Regions from separate parts of the Homo sapiens genome. Here region 2 is linked to region 1. The links are contacts of gene promoters, found by promoter capture Hi-C in blood cells and fetal thymus (Javierre and others, 2016). All regions are on one chromosome and are shown on one strand. The core of a region is centred on a gene start or on the middle of the fragment in contact, and the rest is flanking DNA. Distances in the headings are between cores, read along the strand shown.

What was found. The method cuts DNA at HindIII sites, captures the fragments that hold promoters and counts their contacts. A CHiCAGO score of 5 or more calls a contact.
Region 2: a fragment that was not itself captured here is called in contact with the fragment with the promoter of HOXD12 in region 1 in 1 of 17 cell types (fetal thymus); the score reaches 5.4 in fetal thymus.

The regions. Positions count from the first base shown.
Region 1 is chr2:176,096,009-176,102,694 of GRCh38, forward strand. HOXD12 (homeobox D12) reads left to right here and starts at 3,787. Exons shown (of 2, transcript NM_021193.4): 1 at 3,787-4,367; 2 at 4,514-6,481. The coding sequence starts at 3,794. The coding sequence ends at 4,752. RefSeq lists enhancers at 934-1,517, 1,518-2,100, 3,642-4,374. The HindIII fragment of the contact is 6,365 bases long and covers 422-6,686 here.
Region 2 is chr2:176,569,675-176,576,360 of GRCh38, forward strand. No RefSeq gene overlaps it. Among named protein-coding and RNA genes, the nearest start is that of MIR1246, 28 kb to the right of the region's middle. The HindIII fragment of the contact is 2,605 bases long and covers 2,403-5,007 here.

The DNA of each region.
Region 1 (6,686 bases), core at 2,537-5,036:
ACAAAATCTTGGTATCTTGAACACAATTATGTTCTCTATAGATGAAGGAAACTCAACACTAATTCTGGTTTCTGGAACCTTCATGCTCTCCACTTTTGCCCCCCTCCCTCCCTTTTGCCCATGACTTTAACATAAGTAGTGATGTTTTAAAATGAGGATATCATTTACAGTGTTTAAAATGATATTTTATACCAGGCCAGCTCAAAAGACAATAAAATTTTACTTTTCTTTCACTATTGTCAATTTATTTATATAGTTCTATTTATTTTTTAATCCATATGTATTTGTATGCCTGTGCATAGAAAAACTTACTCACTTGAAAATTTTCAACCTGGAAAGACCATTATAAACATCTGGACTAGGAAGGTCTTGAAATTAGAAAGACATACCCATATTTGGCAATCGAAAAAGAAACATTTCAAGCTTATCCCATATCGCCTTCTCCGGGCAGTCTGCACAGAGCAGTTGACAACTGAAAACATAAAACCTAAACTTTCAGACGCAATTTTTAGGCACTAGAATTTTCTGTTTGAGGCCTTTTTGCCACTCAGGGAAATGGCCGATGAGGAACTGGATGACTCCTCATGGTTAGCTCCCCACACAATCAACTCAGTGGTTGCTAAAGTTTTAGTGTGTAAGTTAGTTACATAGTGATATTTAAAACCTCACTTAGTGTGAAAACTCTCCTGGTGGGAGGGCTCCCTCATGACTTTGAGAGAGAAAACGCAGAGACCTAAGACTTGGAGCTACTTTCGTTTTCCCTGTCCCAGCTTGATTTCTTTCATATCTTACTGGCGACCGTGGACAGCTAACTTCGATTTTGAGGGGGAGGGACAGAGACAGAGAAACAGAGAGAGATATGATCGCGATTCAATCTTTGCAGAAGAAATAACCCGTGCACAAGGGGCCACACCATCCCCCACCTTACACTTCGGGAAGGGTCGTTACCGTTTTTGTGGTTTTTCTCAAAAGATGTGTTTTCATCAGAAACGGGCACATTTTTCCTTTCTCCTAATCGCCAACTTCCCCTCCATTTTTTGTGAGTCCCACACTCCGGAGCTTCACTCCATTTCCCCTGTCTATTTCTCGGGTTTCCCATCGTGGGTAGGGGAGATTGCCTCGAGGCTTTCCTTTCATCTCTAGTTTGCATGTCACTTCCCCCCCTCCCCCCGCCTTGGAGAAATGGTAGGTTTGCTGAAGATTAAAACTGTGCTCAAACGCTCTCTGGAGGAATTTGGATTGAGGGCTAAATCAATAACAGAAGAAGGCTTTGTTATTCATATGCATTCCCTTTATATTCCAAATTGCAGAGGGAGGAGAGGAACTGGTAAGTGGCCCAGGCACTGGGAGGGAGGCCCTCGGGGAACCCGGAAGGCTAAGGGGGCTTGGAGAGAGGCCTTTCCTTCGGTTGGAGACAGGCGGCAGGAGAGCTCCTCAGAAACCCGGCAGGTTTTTAGCGCCGCGGGTGGGGGAACGAGGTCCCCGTGTCGCGTGATTCAAGAGGCGAAGGAAGCATTGGAGCCGGGACTCACGGTCAGACAAAGGGGCGACTGCAGTGCTTCCCCGCCTCTGGCAGCCCCCTGGGTCCCTCTGGCTCCGCTGTCAGGGGCGGCCTTGCCGCCAAGATCTCCGGCTTTCGGAGGCGCTAGGCTGCGTCTGAAAGCGGGCTGGCGACCCCAGGGAGGCCGCACCGCCCTTCACTGTTGATCTTGACCGTGCGGCTGCGCCCCGATAGGCATGGAGCGCGCTCGCCATCTCCTGGGCATTGGGCGGCATTGGCAGAGCTCTCTATTCGCTCCTCAGCCAAATCCTGTTCCATTCTCTTAATCACCAGCCAAGCCACTCTCCCGCCACTACTTTCCACCCCGATCCTCCCTCGATCAGGTTCCCCAGCTCGCATAAGACTTTGCCTGCCAGACCTCGAAAGTCATAAACCCGGGGGATGAAGTGGGAAGACTGTCCAAGGAGCAATGGAGGGAACCTAGTTGTTCTTGTTTTTCCTGTTTTTCACTGAGTTCTTTTATGCCTTTAGTCCTGAGGCGCAAACAGCTGTTGTAGGGCTGCCTAAAGGTCCGAAAGAGACACCCCTCGGCTTGGAAATAACGAGGAATCGTCGTGCACTGAAACGTGAGGAGAGACTGCAGGGACCCCTGGAGCTGGAGCTTTCGGGAGTAACGAAGCTGCAGCTCCTCGAAAATAGGATGGGTTCCCCAAAATAAGAGCTCTTAGGGATCTGAGGCTTGTATTCCCTTGAGTATCTAGGAACTGGGATTGCAGTTTGTGCTTGCCCCCACCTCCCAAGAGAGGACGAGAGCGAGTGAGTCTCTATGCCTGGGCTCCTAAGGAAACTCTCTGGCAGAGCCAGAGGAGCCCCAGACATCCCCACCCCCCCGTCCTCACTCCCTCTCTCCCCCCCACCAGAGCAGGAGGAAGAGGCCGATTGCGTTCCCCAGAGCCACCCAATTGGTCGCCATAACTCACACAATAAAGTGGCAGCGCGGCGGTCAGTCTTGCCCTCCGGCGGCGCCTGTGTGGTCTCAGTGCAGGAGCCCGCGATCTAACCAATTCCAGCTTGGCTCGGAGACCGAGGGTCCTGCTGCAGGCTGAGACTGGCGCCGGTCACCGGGTCTCCCAGGGTCTTGGGATCAGAGGCAGGAGGGGAGGACCCCTAGTCCTCTGGCCGGACTAGGCAAGAGGGCCAGCGACGGGGTCTGAGCACACCGCTCCCGGCTAAGAACTGCTGCCTTTCCCACTTCCCTGTTTGTCAGACCCGTGAACTCCCTATCCCCGGCACCCCTGGGGGCGCTGAGGCAAGGAACTCTGCTAGCCAGCTGCCTCCGAACGCCCGCTGTTCCCCGGCCAGGTGGTTCTGGCTCTTCTGCCTTTCCACACCCAGTCGGGGGAGTTCGTCCTGCTTTGCCCTCCACTTGGTGGATGGGGACACCTCGGAGTTCTGGTTTGCAGTGTGTAGTCCTGGAGAGGACTCCTGAAGATAAAAGGAATGTAGCCTTTGGCCACGATTGGTGGATCGAGCTGATGGGTTCCCTGGCGGACATTCTCCATGGACCTGTATGGCAATTTCCCTATGATCAGAGTTCTTAGCCATGGGGACACAAACCAGAAATAGTGTGGCCTCCTTCCTGGATCCCAAAATTGGGTAGTTTGTGATGCCCTTTTTGTGTCTGCGGCCTGGGACTGAGGGCTCAAGTAGCGAATGGGTCTTTGCTGCCAGATCCTCAGGCAGAGGTCTCTGGAGAAACCCTCTCTGTGGGAGTGATTGGGGTAAAAGTGACATTGCTCAGGCCAAGGGACAGAGCTCCTGGTGCCGCCGGACCGCGCCCTCTCCGGATAAGTCGAGAGGCGCCGGTTAATGGAAAATGCCTCCGCTGCAACTTAAAGCCGGTAGAAGCAAGCCGGGCCCAGAAAGCCTGCGGAAAACGAATCGCAAAGCCAATCACGACCAAGAAGAGTCCCAGGGGACACTTGGGCAGAGTCACCCTCTTGCCCGATGTCCCCAGCTGCTGAAGCCGGGCCTGGAAACCCGCAGACAGTTAGTCTTCGCTCAACCTGATTTGGCTCTGCTGGCAGCCTCGTCCTTCGCCATCGAACATTGCGGGTGTTATCATAATACTCTGAAGGGGGGGAAAACGGGTCGGGGGGATGTAGGCGGTGCTGAAATGACCGGCTTTGAAGAACCTGCAGGCAAAGTTTCGTCCAATCGTCTGAGCCTGTCCTCTTATTCCCGGTTGTAACTAAATACTGTTGCGAGCGCAGCCGAAGCCCTTTGTTGGAGATGTGTGAGCGCAGTCTCTACAGAGCGGGCTATGTGGGCTCGCTTCTGAATCTGCAGTCGCCAGACTCTTTCTACTTCTCCAACCTGAGGCCGAATGGCGGCCAGTTGGCCGCGCTTCCCCCTATCTCCTACCCGCGCGGCGCGCTGCCCTGGGCCGCCACGCCCGCCTCCTGCGCCCCCGCGCAGCCTGCGGGCGCCACTGCCTTCGGCGGCTTCTCGCAGCCCTACCTGGCTGGCTCCGGGCCTCTCGGCCTGCAGCCCCCAACAGCCAAAGACGGACCCGAAGAGCAGGCTAAGTTCTATGCGCCCGAAGCGGCCGCTGGGCCAGAGGAGCGCGGTCGTACCCGGCCGTCCTTCGCCCCCGAGTCTAGCCTGGCTCCTGCAGTGGCTGCTCTCAAAGCGGCCAAGTATGACTACGCTGGTGTGGGTCGTGCCACGCCGGGCTCCACGACCCTGCTCCAGGGGGCTCCCTGCGCCCCTGGCTTCAAGGACGACACCAAGGGCCCGCTCAACTTGAACATGACAGTGCAGGCGGCGGGCGTTGCCTCTTGCCTGCGACCTTCACTGCCCGACGGTAAACGGTGCCCATGCTCCCCGGGCCGGTTTGGGCCGGGATGGGAGGTGGGGTTCAAGGGAGAGTGTAAGGGGAGGTGAACCGCCTGGGGGCGGGCAATAGACAGAGTACGGGCTGGGTTGACGTGGGTTGGGGCTGTGTTGCAGGCCTGCCGTGGGGGGCGGCCCCGGGGAGGGCCCGCAAGAAGCGGAAACCCTACACGAAGCAGCAGATTGCGGAGTTGGAGAACGAATTCCTCGTCAACGAATTCATCAACAGGCAGAAACGCAAGGAATTGTCCAATAGGCTGAACCTCAGCGACCAGCAAGTCAAAATCTGGTTCCAGAACAGGCGTATGAAGAAGAAGCGCGTGGTGCTTCGGGAGCAGGCGCTGGCGCTCTACTAGCCGCGCGCGTGGCCAGGGCCGGGTTGGATCTGCCCTTTTGGACAGAGGCCTTGTTTGGGGAGGGGGATCTGGGGCTAAGGCTAAGGCTTTTCCTTCGGTTCCTTCTCTGCTGGCCCCAGAAGCCACCAAGAGATTTACAGACCAGGCCAGTTGGGCCTCCTTGCTTTCCTCAGTCCCTGAGAAGCCCGTGAGAAACGTGCGGAAGTACCAGTGCAACTCTGGCTGGCCTTAAGGCTTCCACGTTGGGGGACTGAGGCCAACTCTCCTTGCTCCTGGCTGGGGCATTTGCACCCACCGCTCATTCTTGCTCCCCGGTACCTGGATTTTTCTGTTTCCACCCAATTCGTTCTCCCTTTCCCCCTCTCTCCAGCCCCTTCAGCGTATAGCAGTCGCCTAGTTAGGGCTCAGAGTGGAAGGCCTCCTGAGGGAATGGAAAGGACTGTGGGTACAATTAGGTCTCTGCAGCAGAAGCCCTTTGTGGCAAGGCCAGGATCTTCACTCTGGAGAAAGGAAAGGGCACCATCCACCCTCCACCCTCCTGTCTGCCCTGGCTGATTTGAGAGAACAAAAGCCACACTAGATCTTCAGACTTTGGGAGGAAAAGGGAGGGAAGGGGAGGGGCTGGGTAGTGGGGTAAACTTGGAGATATCTCGAAATGAGAAATGCGAAATAGGCTGGCCTATTTCCAGCTGGGTAGAATATGTGGAACCTTCATTTCCTGAGATGGGATGAGAGAGACTGGGACTCCAGACAAGTGCCATCTCCAGACAAGACTGGCAAACATTGCCCTACTCCCACCTTCTCAAACATGCCTAGGCCAGGCCTATGAACCCTGTAACTGGATCCCCAGAGGCTAGCTCTGGTGAAAGGAGCTGTTGGTCTGCTTTGAAGCTCTGTTGCACAGGGAGAGGGAAAAATATCCAGGGGAGGAGAAGGGAGTGAATAAGAGGAGGAGGGGTGCTGCACTCCAACTGTAAATATGGCTTTCCAGTTGAGGTGAGTAAAGGTGTTGGTGCATCTTTCTTTCTTCAATTACCTTAATGGAACCCCATAAGGATAGGCAAAAATCCTTCTCAAGAGTCAAGGGGAGGGGAAGGAAGTCTCTTAGATTCTCTGCCCCGCTAGCTGCTCTTGACAAAGCAAAGAGGACCAGAAGTTCCTCTCACCGTCTCTACCATCTGCCAACTCTACCAGAGGCCCAGCTACTGTGCCCCTTCTGAGGCATGTCTGGCCTGTCCCAGTGGAGACTTTAAGGCCCTGGGCCCTGCCAGGCTTGCCTCATGGAGGCAGGGGTTCCCAAATGCCAGGTGGAGTTGTTCTGGGTGTACTGGAGTGTCCCGCCTTAATCTCAGTGAACCAAGCCTCCCCCTGCGAGCTCATTCCACTATCCCTGCCTCTTCTCCCCTCTCCTTCTGACATGTAGCACTCCTCCTTCGCAATTCCTAGCATGATGCACAACAACTCAAGGATTCAGGATTCCTTCCCAAAGTCCAGTGATTTCTTTTCAGTGCAGGACCTGGCCCTAAATCTGGAGTGGGCCCCTCACAGAGAGCCCTGAGCCTTAGCCCAACTGACTTCAGTTGATATTTAAACTAATTTCATTTTCTAGGCTATCTAATAGTTATCATGCATGTTTTGTTTTGATTTTGTCAAAAACAGTAGCTTGTATATATCAGACACAATATATACAAATGTTTTGAGTGAAAATAAATATCCAGGTCTGAGCCAAGCTGTCAAGGAGCTGAAGTCAATTTTTCAAAATGTTTTGGATTCCACCTTAATGTTTTTCAGGCCACCAAATTCGTTTTTCTTTTCTGGTTATTGTTTCACCGCGAGTGTTGACTGTTCGTTAAATGAGAAAATGGCTTCCGAGGCAGTCAGGAAATGGTGTGTAAAAGCCTACAAACCAAATATGTTTGGAATATCCAAAAGGG
Region 2 (6,686 bases), core at 2,455-4,954, 470 kb after region 1:
TGGCTAATGAAGGTCTGGGGCACTGGGCTCTGACAACTCAAGGAAGCCACCATTAGCAAACAAACATCTGCTTGCTTCCCTCTGCGGTCCCTGCCAGCTGCGGCCGAGGCACAGTAAATTAGTCTGCTAATTCTATTGGCTTGTTCCTGCATTTCTCTAATGTGGAATATTGATCTGTGCTGGGGAGCCTTGGCTTGCAAAGTTCCTAAAGGTGCAAGTGGGCAATGTCTGATATTTTTTAACACCAGGAAAACCTATGGTATGGGGGAACTGTTGCTGAAGTGGAATGATACCCAATGATGAAAACTGGGAGGAGAAAAGCTAAGGTTGAAAACAATTCAGTTCATTGAGCGAGTCTCCTTTAAAGGTAAAACAGTGGGAATCACATAAGAAAATGATCACCCTTTTAGTCGTTAGTGGAAGGCAGGATGATTTTGACCCATTTTAAAGGATGGTGGAAATGAAATAGGAAAATATAGTCTATCTTTATTGATTATTTGATGTTGAAATTCTACTCAAAAGAAAAAAATAAAACCTCTATAACAGATACCTGTCTTGATTTTTAGAGGCACCAGGGTATATTGGCTGAGATCTCAGATTCAAGGATCCCCTACTACCTTAGTAGTGTGATGTACGTAAGGTTGTTTCCTCATCTCTAAATGGCAATGATAACACATAGACTTGTGAGAATGAAATTTTGCCTGGAGATCACCTATCACAGCCCCAGGCACATTGTTGGATTAACTTTCAGGGCACTATATTTTTCATACAGAAATCTTATAGACAGTGGATGTACTCCTCTGCAGATTTGTTTGAGAAAAACAGAATAGGTGTTTGAAACCGGTTCTCCACTGAGAAGATATCACCCACCAGTACCCTACAGAGTTTACTAAGCACCGACTTCTCTGGCTGGATGGGGTATGAGAAAGTATACCCTGAAGGAAATTAACCCACATATGTAAGGCCAGTGGCAATAATACAATCAGGCATTCAGAAGTTATCAGATTGCTTACAAAGTGTGAGGGGCTTTACATGAGCTCCTGCTCCCCGCCCCACTCTTAAACCTCCTTCCCTAATTTAATAGCTATTGAATTTCAAAGAATTATTCTGTGTGTCTTTCTGGTTATTTTAAATCCTACTGCTGTCCCTGGCAGAATGGGATGTGGAAACAAAATTCAGGTTATCTTTCAAAAATAAAGCTGACATTGATCTCAAGCAGATATTCAGGTGGGATGTCCTCACCTCTAAGGACAGCTGGCTTCTGTTCAGTGTGGTTTTTCTGTAAGGTAACCAAAACTTCAGAACACTGAAAATTGTGGGGCATCTCAGAAGGTTTAGTAGAACCTCAGCTCCCTCCTTTCTGAGTTCTTAACTATTGACTTTAAAATAAATGTTTTGGGAACTACCTTTTTGTTATGTGGGGGAAAAGCCCTGTGTGAGGCACTAATTTAATCCACACAACACTCCAAGATAGATACTATTATGCCTATTGTATGGTAGGGACAGTAAAGCTCAGAGAAATTAATGCATCCAATTGTCTAAGAATTCACAGCTAGTAAAGTAGTAGAACTGAAATGGGATACATACATGTCCATTTGATTTCAAAAACTATCCTAAATTGCCTACACTATAACATATATTACAATAAATGAACCTTATGAAATTGCTAAAGTTCAACCAATTTTGACCTACAAAATGGCAGTTTCATATACTACAACCAAATGCTTCATTTGACCATGGCATATGTTTCATTTGACTTACAGTATTGATCGAAACTTTTTGTATTGATATTACATATCCAAAAAGGAATGCAATTAAATGTATTTGAAGACTTTAGTTCCATTCTTCTCATTTTTCTGCTGCAAAATACCAGAGGAATCTGACTGATCCTATGTCAATGATTCATACATTACTTGACGTTTCCCAATAATTTTGTAATTAATCTTTGTATTTTTTTATCAGTTTCATTGTGACCTGACCAACTGAGCTTACAATTGTGTTTCCCTCTTGGCTGCTGAACTTCAACACATTTTGCCATTATGACTTTTATATTAGTTTTCATTTCTTTCTATTCTCAGTTCAGCAATATTGCTGGAGTAATTATTGTTCTTTATACCTTCCAAACATGAGTATATTTTTAAAAACATAAATTAGATGAAACTGTATTAAATTCTCTGGGATCTAGAACATATTCTCAAGGGGGATGAAATCCACTAAAATTATATGTACCTAAGATACGCTGGTAATATTTTGCTAGAAAAATTCTTTGTTAGCATAAAATGGTAAAATATATTACATACAGTATATACATATATAGATAGATGTTTGAACATATAAACAATTTATTTAATAATATTTATTATCTATGTTTCAAACTTACTAATTAATGTGTTGGCTTTCTAAGCTTTTCTCCTTTCTTCCCCAATAATTCTGAATCTACCTTTGTCACTATGATTAGGTAGTCCTTTATAAAAACATTTCACCATTCTGCCCCCATGTCTTCACTTTACATTTTCTTCTATGAACCTTTTGCCCTTGTTTTCTGTCAACTCTTTTGAAAGACATATTTTCTCAACTTACAGTTTTAAAGACATTCATAAGATGAATTCAGTTACCTTTTATCCCATTCTCCTTTTGTCCAAGGAGAATGTTGAAGAAATAACATTTTTTCAGTTGCTTAGCATTTTTTATTTCTGGAGAGAACTTTCACTGTTGTTATCATTTGACTTGAAAATGACATGTATATTATCCATGTGTCTGTAGGCATTTTTTAATTTTAATAATTTTGTAGATATATTTATATGTATTTTAAGCAATAGCTGCGTTAGACTGTATAAATCCCTCCCGCCCCCCCTTGTTTTTTTTTTTTTGAGACAGAGTCTTGCTCTGTTGCCCAAGCTGGAGTGCATTGGTGCGATCTTGGCTCACTGCAACCTCCACCTCCTGAGTTCAAGCAATTCTCCTGCCTCAGCCTCCTGAGTAGCTGGGACTACAGGCACATGCCGCCACACCCGACTAATTTTTTGTATTTTAGTATAGACAGTGTTTCACCATGTTGCCCAGGCTGGTCTCGATCTCCTGGCCTCAGGCTATACGCCTGCCTTGGCTTCCCAAAGTGCTGGGATTACAGGCATCAGCCACCATGCCCCACCCTAAATTTCCCATTTTTCAATAGTTATTTAGTTTCACAGTCTTTTCTAGTTTTTAAATTTTGAAACTGCTCATATGGACATTCTCTGTCATGTTTTTCTTGCCAAGGACAGCACAAGAGAATCCAATGCTCTTTTTAGCTATGATACCTTGGAACTAAACTTACTCTGACAAATGCAAACATTTTCCTGCACTGACAAAGGCCTTCACTAGTGAGTGGCGTGCTGGCCACATTGTCAGGAAGGCTTACCTTAGAAGCTATAAATTTATAAGAGGTCTGACAAAGCTGGGATGTTTTCAGGTGGTCTTCCTTAAGATCATTTAGATTTAAATATTTGAAAAGAACCCTCTAGAGACCACCTTTTTAAGAAAAAGCTCATCTAACGATGAAGATGGGGCCAGAGAACTCTCAAAGCTGCCACCACTGCTGCAACCATTTAACATCCTGTTTTCATCTTTCTCCTCCAGCAGCCACCTCAGTAGTCCCAAGGCGTGTTCCTGCACACTTACCGCAGGATGCCATAGCTATTTCCTTATTTTGTGTAGCTATTTTTATGAGGTTGTAGACAATGTGCACGCTGGTTTGTGAAGGGTTAACACTCAGTTGTGCTGTTGTTGTGCCCTTAGTCACAATATGTTTCCTTTGAAGCAAGGGTGCAGTGTTTCAAATGACAATCGGTATAATTCTGTGCAGATTTTTCCTGATTAATGGACAGGAATTTTCAGTCGAATCTTTAAATGAGTTAGGACAGTGTAAGAGATGGATATAATCCTTACATTTTTTCATTAATAGACATTTCAAATTTGAAAAACTAGGCATTGTATACATATCTGATTTATTGCTGTATGTGTTTCTTGAGTCATAAAGCTGCTGCAAAAGTTATATAATGCTTGCAAAAAAAATAGCGTGGTCTCTTTGTGAAGCTGAATGAAATAAAGTATAAAGTTTGTGATACATTAAATCACAAACATAAATATGTACTTTATGGCCAGCTGTTATTTCTAAATGTGCACATTTTAAAATAGAAACATTTACCCAACATGCTGATTAGCAATTTCCCAGTTCCAAAAGCCCAATTGCATTTAAGATGCAAAAGATTAAAATGCCTAAATAGATAAAGTTAATAGTTCATCTTCCTAAATGCTTTTATATGTTTTAAGTCTTACAGTTCCTTCCAACCCAGTAGTCTCAAGGCTGGAGCTACTTTGATGTGGATTTGTGTTTTATGCACATGTTCTCATTGGAACTGAATCTCACTGCATCTCAGACACCCAGAAAAATATTCTGCACATGAAGGGACGAAGGGACACCATGTGGCTCCATACTACTTCATGCTGTGCATGCGGGTTCTCAGAGAAAGTGAACTGTTTTTCCATTTTAATTTCTCAAATATTCAACCTTCATTTTGGCTAAAAATCATCTCAGTTGCTAATGTTCCATCTCTCAATTTTACTCCTCCCCTGCATAAAAACTGGTCAAGGAGAACATGCAAGATTATGTTGATTCTAAAATACAGTTCCCCCAGGAGACCTTATTGGCTCGTCCATATAGCATTTCTGTCTTTGTAGGTAGAGCAGAATTTGTAAATGCCTCCAGTCCTTTAGGACACATTGGCAATTGGCAGTTCAAAAGTTCATATGATGCCATATGTCTGAATAATTTTTATCTACATCTAAAACAATACAGGACTGTCAAATAAAATCCTGCATGCAAACAAATGATGGAATGCAGGGGAACTCTCTGCTTTAGCCTTTTCTTCTTTGTCCGACAAGCTAATGCAATAAGGCCAATAATAAAAGGTTGTGTATTAGGCCTAAAGCCTGTGACAGATAAAAAGAAATGTTGGAAACCAATGAAGCTTTTGCACAATTAGATTTTTTGAGGCTGTGCTGTAAGGATTGCCCAGAGCCTGTTCAGTCCTGATTGATGGTAAAATCATAACTACATCATATTAGCTGTAGAGTTCACTGACAGGTTACTACAGATTAATATTGCCACTGCTGTTCACTTACCATCAAACCAGGGGAAATATGAATTGAGCTGTTCTTCTAACAAACCCCGCATATTAAAAGGTAAGGTGTTCTACTGAACAATCTCCCCCTGTCACTGAGGAAAGACACAAACAATGTCTATTTGAGAGATATGCAGATACCTTGCAGCATACTAATTAGTTCTCTGCTAAAACAGCCCCATCACATCCGGCTGGCTAACGACCCTTCATGTGAGCTTGTTCCTTCAGAGCTCTTGGCTACAGGATTGCAAACAACATCCTAAAACGTGGAGCTGCAAACCTTGGTGATTTAAATGCTCGCTGCCAGGCAAATTGCGGTGACATAAATTTGGCCCATGTGTTTTGCATCATGTGAATACGAAACAGGGGGATGCCATGGAGCCGAGTTTTGTTTGCACTGGACTCTGGAGGTTTGGTGGACTATTTTCAGAGATGCTATTCATGACAAGGGAGGAGGATCTTTTGCTTTACTTTAAAAATGTTGAAAATGCAAGAAGTAAGCATGTTGCTCTCCTAAATTAGATCGTGCTGATAATAATGACATCCTAAGATGAAAGCATTTTATCTTTTTGCCACCCGAAGCCTTGGATAAAAATTCAACAGTAAAACGAAAACAGGGCTCACTATACAGTATATGAAATGGAATGATTCTTCCTGATTAGGATATGTCAATAAGGAAGCACTGGAGTAAGAGAGGTATTTCACGTCCTGCCTGTTGTGATGACAAGAGCCCCGGCCTGGCATCAGGCAGGAGGCCTGAAGCTTTGGCCTCTTGGTCAAGGTGCTTGTCCTCTCAAGACTTGGAATGTGTGTGCGGGGGTTGAACTAGGGAATCTCCAAGCTCTCTTTCAGCACTATTATCCCATGTTGCTGGCCCCAGTGTTTTGTATGCTAGGCCATGTGTCTTTACATGGGGCTGTTGGATTTCAGCATCAGCATTCCCTGGGTAGCTGGTTAAAGATGCGGAGTCTGGCCCCACCCCATGTGGTTCAGGTGACGTTCAGTTTAAGAACCACTGTCATGAGGGATGGCAGTGACTTGCCTAAAGTCATTATAGACTTTATCATTGTTTAAAAAAGAATGTGCAAAGAGCTAGACAGTCAGCCAGAGACTGGGGAAGAAGATAATAATATCTTCCTATAGATTTAAAGAGAATTGTTAATCTATTATTTAAATTTATATTATTTATTTATTTGAAGAGAAAATGATGACCCTGGCAACAGTAAACCATAAGCTTCATCACATTAGTGGACAGATGATAGACTAGGAGAAGATGTTTGCAATGCTTAAAACCGACTTTGACAAAAAAAAAAAACCTGACACAATTAATATCTAGAATCTATAAAAAGCTCCTGCAAATTGACCAGAAATAAACAGGAAACACCATAGAAATATATGCAAACAGTATGAAGCTCAAATGATGAACTGGTGTTGGATGGGGTGTTCAAATTCATTGATAAGCAGAACAATTGGCTACTCTAGACACATGAGAACATCAGAGTTTAGAAAACTGAATAATGCCAA